Regions from separate parts of the Homo sapiens genome. Here all the other regions are linked to region 2. The links are contacts of gene promoters, found by promoter capture Hi-C in blood cells and fetal thymus (Javierre and others, 2016). All regions are on one chromosome and are shown on one strand. The core of a region is centred on a gene start or on the middle of the fragment in contact, and the rest is flanking DNA. Distances in the headings are between cores, read along the strand shown.

The links. Contacts are between HindIII fragments. The CHiCAGO score rates a contact against its expected background, and 5 or more counts as called.
Region 1: a contact is called between a fragment that was not itself captured here and the fragment with the promoter of COL4A1 in region 2, in 1 of 17 cell types (endothelial precursors). The highest score is 5.6, in endothelial precursors.
Region 3: a fragment that was not itself captured here is called in contact with the fragment with the promoter of COL4A1 in region 2 in 1 of 17 cell types (endothelial precursors); the score reaches 6.8 in endothelial precursors.

The regions. Positions count from the first base shown.
Region 1 is chr13:110,396,670-110,400,928 of GRCh38, reverse strand. The region is part of intron 4 of COL4A2 (collagen type IV alpha 2 chain); the gene reads right to left. Among named protein-coding and RNA genes, the nearest start is that of MIR8073, 58 kb to the right of the region's middle. The HindIII fragment of the contact is 881 bases long and covers 1,049-1,929 here.
Region 2 is chr13:110,303,967-110,308,431 of GRCh38, reverse strand. It overlaps COL4A1 (collagen type IV alpha 1 chain), which reads left to right and starts at 1,275. Exons shown (of 52, transcript NM_001845.6): 1 at 1,275-1,488. The coding sequence starts at 1,405. It overlaps COL4A2 (collagen type IV alpha 2 chain), which reads right to left and starts at 1,148. Exons shown (of 48, transcript NM_001846.4): 1 at 904-1,148; 2 at 485-572; 3 at 309-363. The coding sequence starts at 528. RefSeq lists enhancers at 1-685, 686-1,519. The HindIII fragment of the contact is 7,261 bases long and covers 162-4,465 here.
Region 3 is chr13:110,377,459-110,382,224 of GRCh38, reverse strand. All of the region lies in intron 4 of COL4A2 (collagen type IV alpha 2 chain), which reads right to left. Among named protein-coding and RNA genes, the nearest start is that of MIR8073, 39 kb to the right of the region's middle. RefSeq lists an enhancer at 1,817-2,767. The HindIII fragment of the contact is 4,321 bases long and covers 290-4,610 here.

The sequences.
Region 1 (4,259 bases), core at 240-2,739, 92 kb before region 2:
TTCTTCATTCTCTTAATTATAAGTTTACTTATGAAATCATTTTTTTTCTTAAGTATCTCTCTGCCAATACTTACAAAATAGAAGGCTGGCCAAAGTAGTCAACTCATGAGCCTTCCTGTGTAACCAGAATATGTGTACGTGGGCAGGAAATCTCTATAGGAAGCAGAAATCTAGGTCCATCATTATAAATGCTTTATCTTCTGAATAACTCTTTTAGTTACTGAAGTGGAATTACAACTTTTTTAATCTTATCAATTATAAAAGTATATTCAGGTTTCATTGATTACAATATTTTTCCCCCTTTTGGAAAATGATGTAATTAATAGTCATCATAGTAATTTTTCTGTTTTTTTGGTTCTCTATATAAACATTAATAAATGGGGATAGATTCAAGGAATCAGAAGTTAATGAAGCATATTTTAAACATTTAGACTTTCTGCTGTCTTAATTTTGAATACGTGTTTGAATACCTATGGGAGGCTACTTTTCTTACTGCATTTGCTTTACTAGCTTCTGTGTTATGAAATCTAACCATCAACTCTTTCAGGGAGAAGGAATGAACATTTCCGTCTGACCAAAGTTTCAAAAGTCAAGAGGTGAATTAATGTTCAGAAAATACTTAAAATCTTATTTAAATTTCTCATCTGCTTAAGAACTTTTTCACTTTTTTTTCTGTAGTAGGTATCTGAAGACCAACTTTTTCACTTTTATCACATATGCAAATTGATCTCCAAAAGGTTTATTAGAGATTGGGTCTATATATCAAAAGGTACTTTATGAATGAATTAAGAAGGGAGTTTCCTATCTAGGCTGGCTAGTTAGTGAGGTTGCAGAAGCAGTCAGCATAAAAACTTTGTTAAAGTTCAGGAATCCAGCTGGCTGTATGTTTTGGAGAATTTGTCTGATTACTACACATGGTTACTAGATCTATCGTGAATATGGAACAAATTCAAGAACATTAGATTCTCTTGGCCTTGTGGAGATTACTCAATTCATCTAGAATTTTAATCGAGCATCTTACAGATGGAACTTCTGCAATTATCAAGCTTCAGAAGCCATGACCAAAGCAAACCTCACTCAAATCTTCTCTTACCCTCAAAACAGAATGTTTTCCCCTAAAAGAAGCAGGTGGCCTATCATATTCCTGCCAGGAAGATCCTGCAGGGCAGGCATAATCAGATTAAAATCAATTAGATGAACTGTGTGGGAATTTGCATTTTAAACATTCTCATGGCACATCCCCCCAAATTTAGACAATTTTTGAAAAGTTCCAATATTTTCATATATTTCACAAAACTGGATTGTGTCACCAAGGGAATGCTATGCATCTGGAGAATAAAAGGTTTCACAGGACCTAGGCTCAGTTCCACACATTTATTTTTGTCCTCTGTGGGAAAGAAAATAGGTAAAGTGGTTCAGAGATGCAAGACTTTAGGTCTGGGGCCAACCAAACTCAAAGAGCTGCTTTAAAGCCCATTATGGGTAAAGCTAGACTTCTTCATTCTCAGACCAAGTCAATACGGGAGCTCACTTATGCCCCACATGCCAGCATGAATATGTCACTAATATATGATGGCCATCAAGGTTCTCTGGTTGTTTTGTGAATGTTATCTCTCAACAAGGTGTCTGACATCACAGGCTCTGAGGGCTTACGGGAGGAACAAGATTTTATCTTTGCTCTCCTTGGTGATCTAGACAAGTGGTTTAACCTTGGGCTCCTGTGCGGATGTGTGAGTTAAGTAGCTAGTGAGGGAAAAATGTGATAGGTGTTCAATAAATTTTCTTCACCTTTCTCCCCAATGCCCTTTCATTCCTTTGACCTGCTTCTTAAACATCCTTCACAATAGTTACCAGAATACTGGGCACAGAGTGGCCTGGCTGCTTAACAACTTACACATTCTCCCAGTTTTCCTGCCAATAAAAAAAGCTTCTTACAACTAAAAACCGGCAGGAATTTGTGGTTGATCTCCTTTGATAAAATGGTCTAAGTGAGCCAAAAAAGATACAGTTATATATAAGTAAGGCTAAAAATACTTTTTTTGACTTGGCTAAAAAAAAAAATTGTTAAAAAAAAATCAACCTAAATTGATTTGGTTGATGGACTAGATGATCTCCAACTCCACCCTGCCTCTGGGCTGGGTATGTCTGATATCTTATAATGCTGACTGTGCTTTTTGTTATTTGATTCTTTCTTCCTTTCTTTCCCTTTCTTTCTTTCTTTTTCTTTCTTTCTTTTTTGACAGAGTCTCACTCTGTCACCTAGACTGGAGGGCAGTGACACGGTCTCGGCTCACTGCAACCTCCACCTCCTGGGTTCAAGCGATTCTCCTGCTTCAGCCTCCCAAGTAGCTGTGATTATAGGCATTTGCCACCACTAAAATCTAAAACCACTAAACTAAAAACAAAACACTAAAAACACCATTTGTGTTTTTAGTAGAGTCGGGGTTTCACCATGTTGACCGGGCTGGTCTTGAACTCCCGACCTCAACTGATCCACCCACCTTGGCCTCCCAAAGTGTTGGAATTACAAGTGTGAGCCACTGCGCCCAGCTCATTATTTGATTGCTAAAGGAAGTGATGGCTATACACTTATATCTCTGATCTTTTGCTTATTTACATTTACCGTTGTCATTTCTATAGGCAGTTGAGTTTTCCTCATAATAAACATGTATTTTATTATTTTGAAAAAGTTGCACTTGAATACATTTCACACCTTATCTTCCCCCCACCTAAAGGAACATGTAAAAATAGCAATAGAAACAACCAAAAAGGAGAAGGGACAAGAGAAGAAGAAAAAGGAAAAGGAAGCAGTAGGAAAAAAAAAAAGAAAAAATCTGATTTTTGATTTAGATTTTTGAGTTTTTCTAAAAATAACTTCAAAGCCCTTCAAAATGTAATGGTGTGGAGAGTTGATCTTTCGCTTTAGCCTGCATCTGTTCGCGAGTTTTCCCAGCAGAGATGACTTCTTCTCCATACGATACAGCTGCTCTTAAAGCAAGGATTTGCCCATCTTTTCCAATCATTAGGGGGTTGCTAAAGTTTAACGTTTGTGACTCTTTCTGTTGGACTCAAAATAACATAAATAAACTTGTGAATATAAAATATGGTGTAAAAGCCTTCTTCTGAGTGTCCTCTCACAGCCCCCAAACACAGAGCTGATTCTTTCTCCTGCCCTCATACCCACCCACTCCCTCTCCTTCCTGCCCACAAAGGACTATTCATCCACATGCGGCTGACACGCCCGTCTCAGATCGCTTTCTGCGTGGTCCACATGATCCATTATTCCTTCTGCTACATCGATTTGCAAGTGGTAGTTCAGTTCAGAGCCAGTACTTCTGGCCTCCAGTTTCGATTTACTCCAAAAACGTCTGCCTTGCCAAGATTGTGAAATATGCCACCTACGATGTTCTTAAAAACTGAAAAAAGTTCAAATGTTTATTAGTGGAAAAATGTGCATCCATCACTAAGTGGAAATGAGAAATAAAAATTCATTTAAAAAGTGCTCATACGGCTTACTTCCCTCCAATCAAGCCTATAAATACTGACAACCTGAAGCCTGAATCCCTATTTAAATGACAGGGACCCAGAGTGATGGCTTGTGATGCTCTGAGGGGTTCTTCGGTTCCGGGGCTGCCCAAACCACTTCCCTGTTAGACTTGTATTTGGCAGAACCTCCGTGCAGAAGTCCAAGACTGTTCTGACGCATTTGTAAGTAAACAGACTGTATAACTTATCTTCAGACAAATATCAATGGGGGCGGATAAACAGTCGGCCAGAGGAGGTTTTCCAAAAACTCTCCGACGGTCATGTGATATTAACAGGGCTACACTGTGGTCTTGGCAGGCCTGCTCGGGCCTTGAGCAACGTTATGACCAAGGATGGTAGCAGGCTGTGAATAAACTCCTATTAGTCATGTCCGTGAAGCCTGGGTGCTCAGGAGGGAGAGTGAGGCTCAAGCCTTGTGGAATTCAGTGCTCTGACTTCAAACTCAAAATAAAACCACAAAACATTTGCACATTGACTAGACCTCTGAAATCTCTCTATGCATACCATCTGACACGTTCAACAGTTTAAAAAATGAAAGGAGACAAAAATTTGCTGTTTGTAAGAAAGAAATTGCAATTCTCTACAATTTGATGCTGGTTTTATCATTAGGGATTGGAAACGCCTTTAATTCTCTCCTCACAAGAAAAAACGGTCCGCTTAGTCATTTCTAGTAAGATTCTGAATGGCTTAATCTTAGACTGCCATGGGGTTTA
Region 2 (4,465 bases), core at 26-2,525:
CTCTACGGCTGCAGCTTTGCCCAAAGCAACGAAAACGGTGCCTCAGGCTACATTTTAAGTTCCCAGTTCCCGTGAAAGGCCGACGCTTGCAAAACACAGGATTGACGCTGGGAACCCAAGGGGAAGGAAAGGTGGAAAGCATGATGAGGGAAGAGCAAGCTTTCTCAGAACCTTGGTGGGCAGCCTGGCGAACATCCACACGCACACACACACTCGGGAGCGCACGGACGAGCTGCCTTCTCCAAGGCCACTCAAACGTCCCAACCACTCTCGGGCGCGCAAGTCCAAGCGCGGGAGCCAGGACTTACCGCCAAGACGCTCTGGGCGAGGAACCCCACGGTCACTGTCCCCAGCAGCAGCCACCTGCATGGGAAAGGGAGGAAGAGAGACGTGAACGTGCGGGCCCGGCTTGTCAGTCCCCGAGAGTTACACCGAAGGGTCCATGCGCGCGTGACCCACGGGGACCAGGCAGAAAGTCGCTTACCGCCGTAGGGCAGGGCCGGCCACCGCGCGCTGGTCTCTCCCCATGCTGGCGGTTCGTCCACTCTGGGCCCCGGTCAGTCCCACTTAGCCTAGAGGCGACAGACAAAGCGAGTTTAGCGCAGGATGAGGGAGGCAGCCCATCCTCACCGCCGGTCTCGGTCCGCGAGACGCGGGGACAGCGCGGTGCGCGGCCCGCATGCAGGGGTGACCGGAGGGCCGTCCCCCCCACGACCCGGAAAGAAGGAGAGCCTCCCGTTAGGCCCCTGTGGGTGCTCCTTGGCCGAGGAGCTCGGTCTTCGCTCTCCCACCCTCCCCCTTTCTACTCCCAAGCAGGAGAGCGTGCAGCCCTAGCCTGCACAAGGCGCTCCAAGTCGGTGCTCTCGGGCCAGGGTCTGGGCGCCGCTCGGGGGTCGCTCTCACCTCGGGCTCGGCTTCAGGGGCTGCTGCCCGAACGCATTGGCCCTTCCAGAAGCACCCGCCGGCGGCACACCGGCAGGGCGGCCGGCCTTGCTGGGCTCTCTGGGCGCCGGCCCCGGGGGCTCGGGCGGCCCCTTTCGGTCCTCGGCCTGGATCCGCGAACGCGCGGGCGCGAGGGGTTGGGACGCGGGAGCCTCTTGAGTGCGGAGCGCGGAGCCCTGGTGTCCCGGCGCACTGCAGCCACACTCCCGGGCCGCGCGCTCCCGCCGCCTCTTACCCGCGCCGCAGGGTCCTCCCCTTTGAGGCGCCGCCCGCGCACCGCCGGGGGGGAGGGGGCAGCGCCAACAAATTGGGGAGCTCGGCCCGCCGCGCTCAGGTCTCCGCTTGGAGCCGCCGCACCCGGGACGGTGCGTAGCGCTGGAAGTCCGGCCTTCCGAGAGCTAGCTGTCCGCCGCGGCCCCCGCACGCCGGGCAGCCGTCCCTCGCCGCCTCGGGCGCGCCACCATGGGGCCCCGGCTCAGCGTCTGGCTGCTGCTGCTGCCCGCCGCCCTTCTGCTCCACGAGGAGCACAGCCGGGCCGCTGCGAAGGTGAGTTCCCGGCCAGCTCCGCTCCCGGCGTCCCGCCCCGAGCTTGGGCGCCCCGAGAGGCCCCTTTGTCCGCGCCTGGACCCGTCCGCCTGCCCCTCGGGGGTCGCGCGTGGCACGGCCAGGTGCATTCTCTGGGCCGGGGTTCGTTGGGGGTCCCTGTAGGCTACGATCGCGCATTGGTGGACCGAGCCTCCTTTGTTATGGTATGGGTACTGGAGAGTTAAGGAATTCCTCCGGGGAAGGGAGGAGAAACAGCCCGCGCTGTGGCGGGGTGAGGGTGCCTGGGAGCCGGCGGGATTTGAACCCGCGTCGCGGGTATGCTCGGCAGCTGGGCGCCTTCACCCGTCCCGGGTGCGCGAGGGAGTTGGGGGCTGGAGGGCCGGGAGCGCCCACCCCGCGCTGCTCAGAGACCCACACTGGGAGCTCCGAGCTCCTAGCCCCTGGGAGCAGCTTTGGGCGTATTTCTCCTTGTCTGGAGACCCTGGTGGCTGAGGCTGAAAAGCTCTGGGCCCTTTGCCTGGAAACAGCTGTATCTGAGCTTTCCCACGACTGCTGCCTAAGGCGCGCTCCAAGGCAGAAGTGGGGCTCTTCTGGACGCCCGGCTTGAAGAAGCCACCATCCTCAACTCGTTGCCTTCTATTAATATATATTTTAAAAAATTATAACCACATTCATATTTGAGCATGAAACCAAAGTGAAACTCCATGTCATTGTTCCATGCACAAATTGTTTTTCTAGTTTTCATTTCCTTTGGTTATGTGCTTGCCCAGAAAGGATCTGGGAGATCGGTTTGCAGGAGGTTTGCAGGAGTCGAGGCTTCCAGCCGTGGACAAGCCTGGACTGACTGTTGTTTCCTTTTTTCCTTCCCCTCCGAGAGAATAAAGACTTCAGCTGTTGCTCAGTGTCACAGCCATGCAGTCCCACAGGCCGGAAGGTGTGGCTTCTGAACAGATTTTGCAGTTTCTCCCTCAAATGCTTAAAAATGATTTTTGCTACTTACCAGATTTTCCATACTTATTCTTTTACTGTTCTTAATCTTGTTCTTTGTTTTCCTCTTTAAAAAAAAATTTTACTTCTCTCCTGGAAGAATGATACTCACTAAATCCACTTAACTGTATAGAAATTGTTAACTGTTACATGCCAGAGAGAACTGGTGATATACACACACGTCTCCTAATTGAGAGCTTATCTCCCTGGAGGCAGCTTCTCCACTGGGTATTGAAAGGACTAATGATTACATCAGCAATTAACTTCAGATTGTACCTCCCAGCCCAGTCTCCCCAAACTTCATAGCCAGTTATTTAAACACTCTTTGGTAATGATGACAAAATACTTTCCAAAGAACAGGCTTGAGAGCACTTTATTTTGGTCTAGAAATATTGACCAAAAGATTGAACGCTTCCAAGGTGAGATGGTGAAGCCTGATGATGGTAAGGTAAATCAGAGAAAGTTCTTCATTGGGAAATAGGAGCTGTTTGCATTTCGATTTTCTGATGGATAATGTTAGCAAAGCAAAGAAAGCTAACTGTAAGAGCTGGCTTTCCAAACATCCAGGACTGTAGAAAGAAAGAACCACTCAGTTACGCAAATCCTGTTCTCACCCGGGAAATCAAACGCATTAATGTTGAGTTGGAGATGATTTTACTTCCCTTTAATCATTTCCTAAAGCTCAATTACATTCCCGGCCACTGTCTTTGCAGTGTCCCTTGAGGTGCCATGGACTGTTTTTAAGAGATGCAGCCTGTGGGCACTTCTGATCACAGCTGACCTCACAGATATTATCATTACTCTGTATTTTCCCTGGCTTAATTAGAGAAAAGTGCTTAATGTGCAGATGATGTATGGGTATACAAGAAAATCACTTAAAAACTGAATCTGCCTAATTTTAAAATTTGTCTCACTTTTCATGCCATCAATAACATTTTGGCTTACCTCCTTCCAAAATCAGCTGTTAGATGTACCATAACACTGAAATAGCTTCAATACTGATCCAAGCAAAACATAATTTAAAAGCACATTTTGAATGATAAGATGCTGTGGATTTGATCAGATCCTCATTCAGAAGCCAGTGGAAGTGACTGTTGGCTTACCTCTCCTTTGCACTGTCTGAATCACACTTCACCTGCATTTGTACATCCAGACATCACCTGCTGTGTGCCAGGCATGAATTGCCCTTATTGTTTTTTCTTCATGAAAGGCTGTTTAATTTTGTATTTGCTGTATCTGCTATGGTCATATTGTTTACGTACTCATGGGTGGATTTTCTAAACCATTGATTTTATCCCACGCTGAACCTACCACTCTACTCCCCGCTCCTCCCTTCCTCCACTTTTCTTCAGCAAGAAAGGAGGAATAGCTTGCAGGCTCCAGACAAACACGTGCCAGCAGTGTTCTGATTGTGAGCACCCTCTACTCTTAGTCACTCAGTTGCACTGGGCGGAATGAACCCTTCCTGCAGCAGCTTTCACACTCCCCTCTAGCTGGTTCTGTGTGATGCTTCTTAACAGATTATTTCTCAGGATTAGAAACGTGAACTTTCCCCTCAGTGTGGTGATGCTTGTCCAGCAATACTGTCATCTCCTGACCATTAGTCACCACCTCTGGGACTGAATGACCTAGAGTTCAAACTAAGTGAGATTTCATTCCCATATAAGTATGGACCATGTTCTACTGGAAATGTAGTTTAGAAGAGAAGGCTGGTTTCTGAATCAGTCCCAACAAGAGCAGCATCGCCCAGGATCTCAGGAGTGATATTGGTGAAGCTATTCCTTATATCTGCAAGCTCTTTATATTAATAGATGGAATTGGACTAGGGTGAAGGGACATAACTTTAAGACCAACCAGAAGACACAATGTTCATGTACTCTGACTAGATTCACAGAATTATCAATGCTATATATTATTAATAGTCACGTGTACACAGGATGAGTGTGCTTTAGGCACCAGAGGACCTTACATTTTATACCTGCTTTTAAGC
Region 3 (4,766 bases), core at 1,201-3,700, 73 kb before region 2:
TGTCCACCATAATTGCTTTGTTTGAAGACATTTGGAATGGAGAGGTTTAGTAATGGATAGAAGGGATTGTTTTTTTCTCTATTTATGATTCGATGAATGGAAATCCTTTTAGACTGGCTAAACTACTTCTATTTTCTGATCTTAAAGTAGTTGTTCAACAGCAGTAGGACACAAATGATGCTGGATATATATATGGCAACCGTGAAAAATTCAGTGATAACAAATACTGTAGTTCTAGTGCAAATTTGTCCCATTGAAATAAGTAATAATCAAGGCATAGCATCAAGCTTCTAGAGAAAAAATGAAATCCAGCAGAAAAAGGGAGAGCATAAAATCTCAGTATGGGTACTGAGACCTAGGGAGTGGGGTTATCATCACCACCACCATTTTAGACTAATAATAACGATGATATGAAGATGATGATGCGTTGGGTGCTTGGCTGTGTGGTTTACACACTTCCTTTCATTTGTTTCTGAAAGGGAGTGAAAAAGGAGTGAGGCAGATTCAATCCCAGACTGCGTCCAGGGTCAACCTTTCTACTAACAGGAGGATTCCCAGATGCAAATTCAAGCAGGTCGAGAACACATTGTTGACCTGAGGCTCCTTTTCTGACCTGTCCTTGAGGCTGAGAGTTCAATCACGTGTTCACTGGTATCTCCAGTTGTGCGAGACAGTCACTAATAGGGTCATAAGGACCCACCTGGCAGAAAGATGCACAGCCTAAGTTGATATCTGGTGGCTCCTGATGAAGAGGTTTAATAACTGTTATTTCCCAATAGGATTTACAGTATTTTAGATTTTTAAAGAATCATTTTTTTCCTAAAGAAATCTGGCTACGGTAGAGGAGCAGGCGGATGTCAAGGAAAGGGGACGCCAGAGTGCTGGGCGTGAGAGCCCCGTGGGTGTGAGATAGAGCCGGTGGGTGTGACATAGAGCCGGTGGGCGTGAGATAGAGTCCGTGGGTGTGAGATAGAGCCCATGGGTGTGAGACAGAGTCCATGGGTGTGAGATAGAACCTGTGGGTATGAGATAGAGACCGAGGATGTGAGATAGAGCCCGTGGATGTGAGATAGAGCCCATGGGTGTGAGATAGAGCCTCTGGTTGTGACATAGAGCCCGTGGGTGTGAGATAGAGACCCATGGGTGTGAGATAGAGCCCGTGGGTGTGAGACAGAGCCCGTAGGTGTGAGACAGAGCCCGTGGGTGTGAGATAGAGCCTGTGGTTGTGACATAGAGCCTGTGGGTGTGACATAGAGCCCGTGGGTGTGAGATAGAGCCCATGGGTGTGAGATAGAGCCTGTGGTTGTGAGATAGAGCATGTGGGTGTGACATAGAGCTCGTGGGTGTGAGACAGAGCCCGTGGGTGTGAGATAGAGCTCTGTGGTTGTGAGATAGAGCACGTGGGTGTGAGTTAGAGCCCATGGGTGTGACATAGAGCCCGTGGGTGTGACACAGAGCCCATGGGTGTGAGACAGAGCACGTGGGTATGAGATAGAGCACGTGGGTGTGAGATAGAGCTTGTGGGTGTGACATAGAGCTCATGGGTGTGAAATAGAGCCCGTGGGTGTGAGATAGAGCTTGTGGGTGTGACGTAGAGCCCTGTGGGTGTTCGATGAGCCTCCTAGTGCCCTCTTGCCCGAATATTGATGGAAAAAATCCCTACATTCTTCTAATGTGAGTGTGTGCATAGAAAACCATCTTATCTCTAAGTGAGTGTGAGAATCCGATGAGTCAGCACGTATACAAATAGAGACTTATTTAAAATATTAATATTTAAATTTTAACAGTTAACACATTAAAGCTGTATAAACAAGTGACTTATAGTTACTATGCATTAGGCAAAGGCACAGGAAAAGTTCCTCTTGTGAAAATCTCCTCTATAAAATCATAAACAATACTGATAACTCATGTCCATGCTGGTGGGAGAAAAGTCTAAATAAAATTCTCTGTTCGACCCTCCCCTCAGAAGAAAAGCCTCTCAGAAGACTTCCTTCAAGACCCACCTCTTAAGAGGCTCCTGGGGGTTAAAAAGCTGTTATCAAATGCAAATCACTCCCAGCTGGGTTGAGGCCATGACTAATGTGCTCTTTGGTGAAGTTTCTTTTCATCTGCAATCCACAGATGCTTTGCTCAAACATGGAAGGTGTGGGGACGGTTTGAGTGGAGCAGATCCTCTCAGAACAGGACTAGCTGGCAACACAGGCCATTGCAAGGGAAGGCTGGCCTGCGGAGGGCTCACTGGGACACGGGAGAGAGCTGCCTGGTGACACAGAGGGGCTGGAGAAGGTGGAGGAGAGGAGGCAGGTGGAGGAGGGTCAGCTTTCCAAGGCGGAGCGGGTTGCTAAGTAAGTCCTTCTACCAGGAAGCTCAGCTGCACCTCCCAAATAATGACAAGGGACCCAGACACCATCCTAACGTGGCTCTCATGTGTTAGGGGTGCACAGGCATAGCCACCTAGGGAGTGGGGGGCTCATCAACACTGCCATTTTAGAGATAAAACACGGTGGTGCCAAGAGATTAACTAATGTGCCCAGCAGCCCGCACTTCCGAATGGGGGTCCATGGGGAGTACTCCGACCCCAGCACCCCAGCTCCATGGTCTGTGCACCCGCCTGACACGGCACCTCCAGAGTTGGATTTGGGGGTGCATGAGAAGGGAGGAGCCTTGCAGCTTCTGCTGCAGCCAAAAGTCTGTGAGCCCCACTGCTGCCCGGCGCCCCTGGCTCCTCAATTTGAGGTATACACAGAGCCTGACACACAGTAGGAACTCAGGTATTTGCTGAGTACATGAAAGAAATGAGCTGCAAGATGGAAGGTCATGCCAAGGAATTTTGCAGGGGCTTTCTGAGGGCAAGGCTTTCCCTCGGGTGCACCTGCACGCGTACTCGCCTCTTAGCTTAGGGTGCTGAGCACTGCTCTAGCCCAGGGTCTCCCACCTTCAGCACTTCAGATAATCTGCACCAGATAATTCTTCTTCACGGGGCTGTCCTGTGCATATAGGATGTGTAGCAGCGTCCCTGTGCCCCACCAGATGCCAGAAACACCCTCTCCACAGTATGACAACCAAAAGTGCCTTCAGATTTTGTCTGATGTCCCTGAGAGGAAGCTGCCCCTTTTCAAGAAGCCCTGGTGCAGCCACCTAAGAGCAGAAGGTGCAGTCTTCTCCGTGCCTGCGGAACTAGGCAGGTGCTGATGGGTCAGGGCCAGGCAAGACTACAAACGGGGCCCAAATGCCCCCGGCTCCATGATCTCCCCTTTACAGGAGCCGGAGAGTGCGTGAGGTGGGACACGGAGGCTCTGCCTCATATGAAGCAGCTTCCATTCATGACTGTGTCCACCGACACCAATGTGGAGCTCTCCACCATGATCACATTGTGGAGAAGGAAATACACCGCGGGACCGAATTCCTTGTCTAAGGACTGTCTAGGTCAGACTGGGAACATTCTTCCCAGTGGTTCGAAGGGTTTGCTTCCTAAGTATCGTTCAAATGCTGTCTGCAGGGAATACTGCATTCAGGAAGTGCCCACTGGGGTGGGTTTTAATGCGACTTTTCATGCAGAGGGCATTTGCTTCAATTATTTCCTTGTAAAAGAAATTTCACTGATTATTTCTGTTTCTTGGAAACAACTCCATTTAGTATTTTCTCTTAGCTCTTCCTAAATCAATCTTAAAAGGCCTCCTGATTTGGCTGTAATTCCAGAATCTTTCTCCATCTCAGAGAATCTCCTGAGGCGAGGGACCCGGAGGAAAGGGCCTGGTTCTGTCTCATGAGGCCGCAGGCGCACCTCTGGACCATGGAGGGCCTCAGTTTCCTCAACTGGGAAAGGAGACTTGCTAGTGTATCAGGTCCTTCCTATATCTACAATTCTCTGAATTTGTTCCATATCTATTTTTTTGGACAAAACTTTTGTCCTCCCTTGTCTGTATTTCCTTACATCTGAGTTTTATTTACAAATGATTTGAGCAGCAAATCCTTGATACTTAAGGTTGCCAGTGAAGACCTTGAATAAAGGGAGATACAATTAAAGCTGCATGCATCTTATTTTAGCCAAGAAAGCAGAAAACTCTGCTCAGATAGAACAAAAGCCTAATGAGCCCTGTTGAAATTCTTCATTTCACATTACATCTCGATTCGAGACGCCTGGGCTATTCCTTTTGCCAAAACTGTGTAAAATGTGACCGTGGTTTTAATATTCTTACAAGCCGTGGGTTATTCTTCTGTTGAATTCCCACAAGCCCTGTTTGTTGTTTTTCAGAGCAAACCACTCACTTTTCCAAACTGGGTTTTGATTGCTAATAAGAGAAACATTTTGACAGTATACTTTTTTTTCCAGAAAAGTTCTGTGAAGAAGAAAGTTCTGTTGAAATATACTTGTGATATGTTCAAATTAGGTCTGAATAAAGCCATTAAGTATTAGGCTGAATTTTATAAAGTACGTATTCAGATGATTTTACCTTCTTTAACATGTTTTTCTATTATCTCTATTTTTAGTATTGTTTCACCAAGGTTAGCTCAACATAATGAATTTCCCCATAGTCAAAGCCAAAAATATGAAGGCGGGGGAGGAGTTTCTGTAAAGAGTTGGTCCTTGGGGATTATTTCGAAAAGCTTTTCCTGAGTCAAATGATTTTAACGGAATCACAATTCCCACCCTCCTGATTCCCCATGGAAAGCCCATTAGTTGAGGGGAGCTCAAATCCCAGTGGGGGTGGGGTGGGCACACCCAGGAGCAGCTGCAGGGATGTGCGGGGTCCTGGGATGGAGAT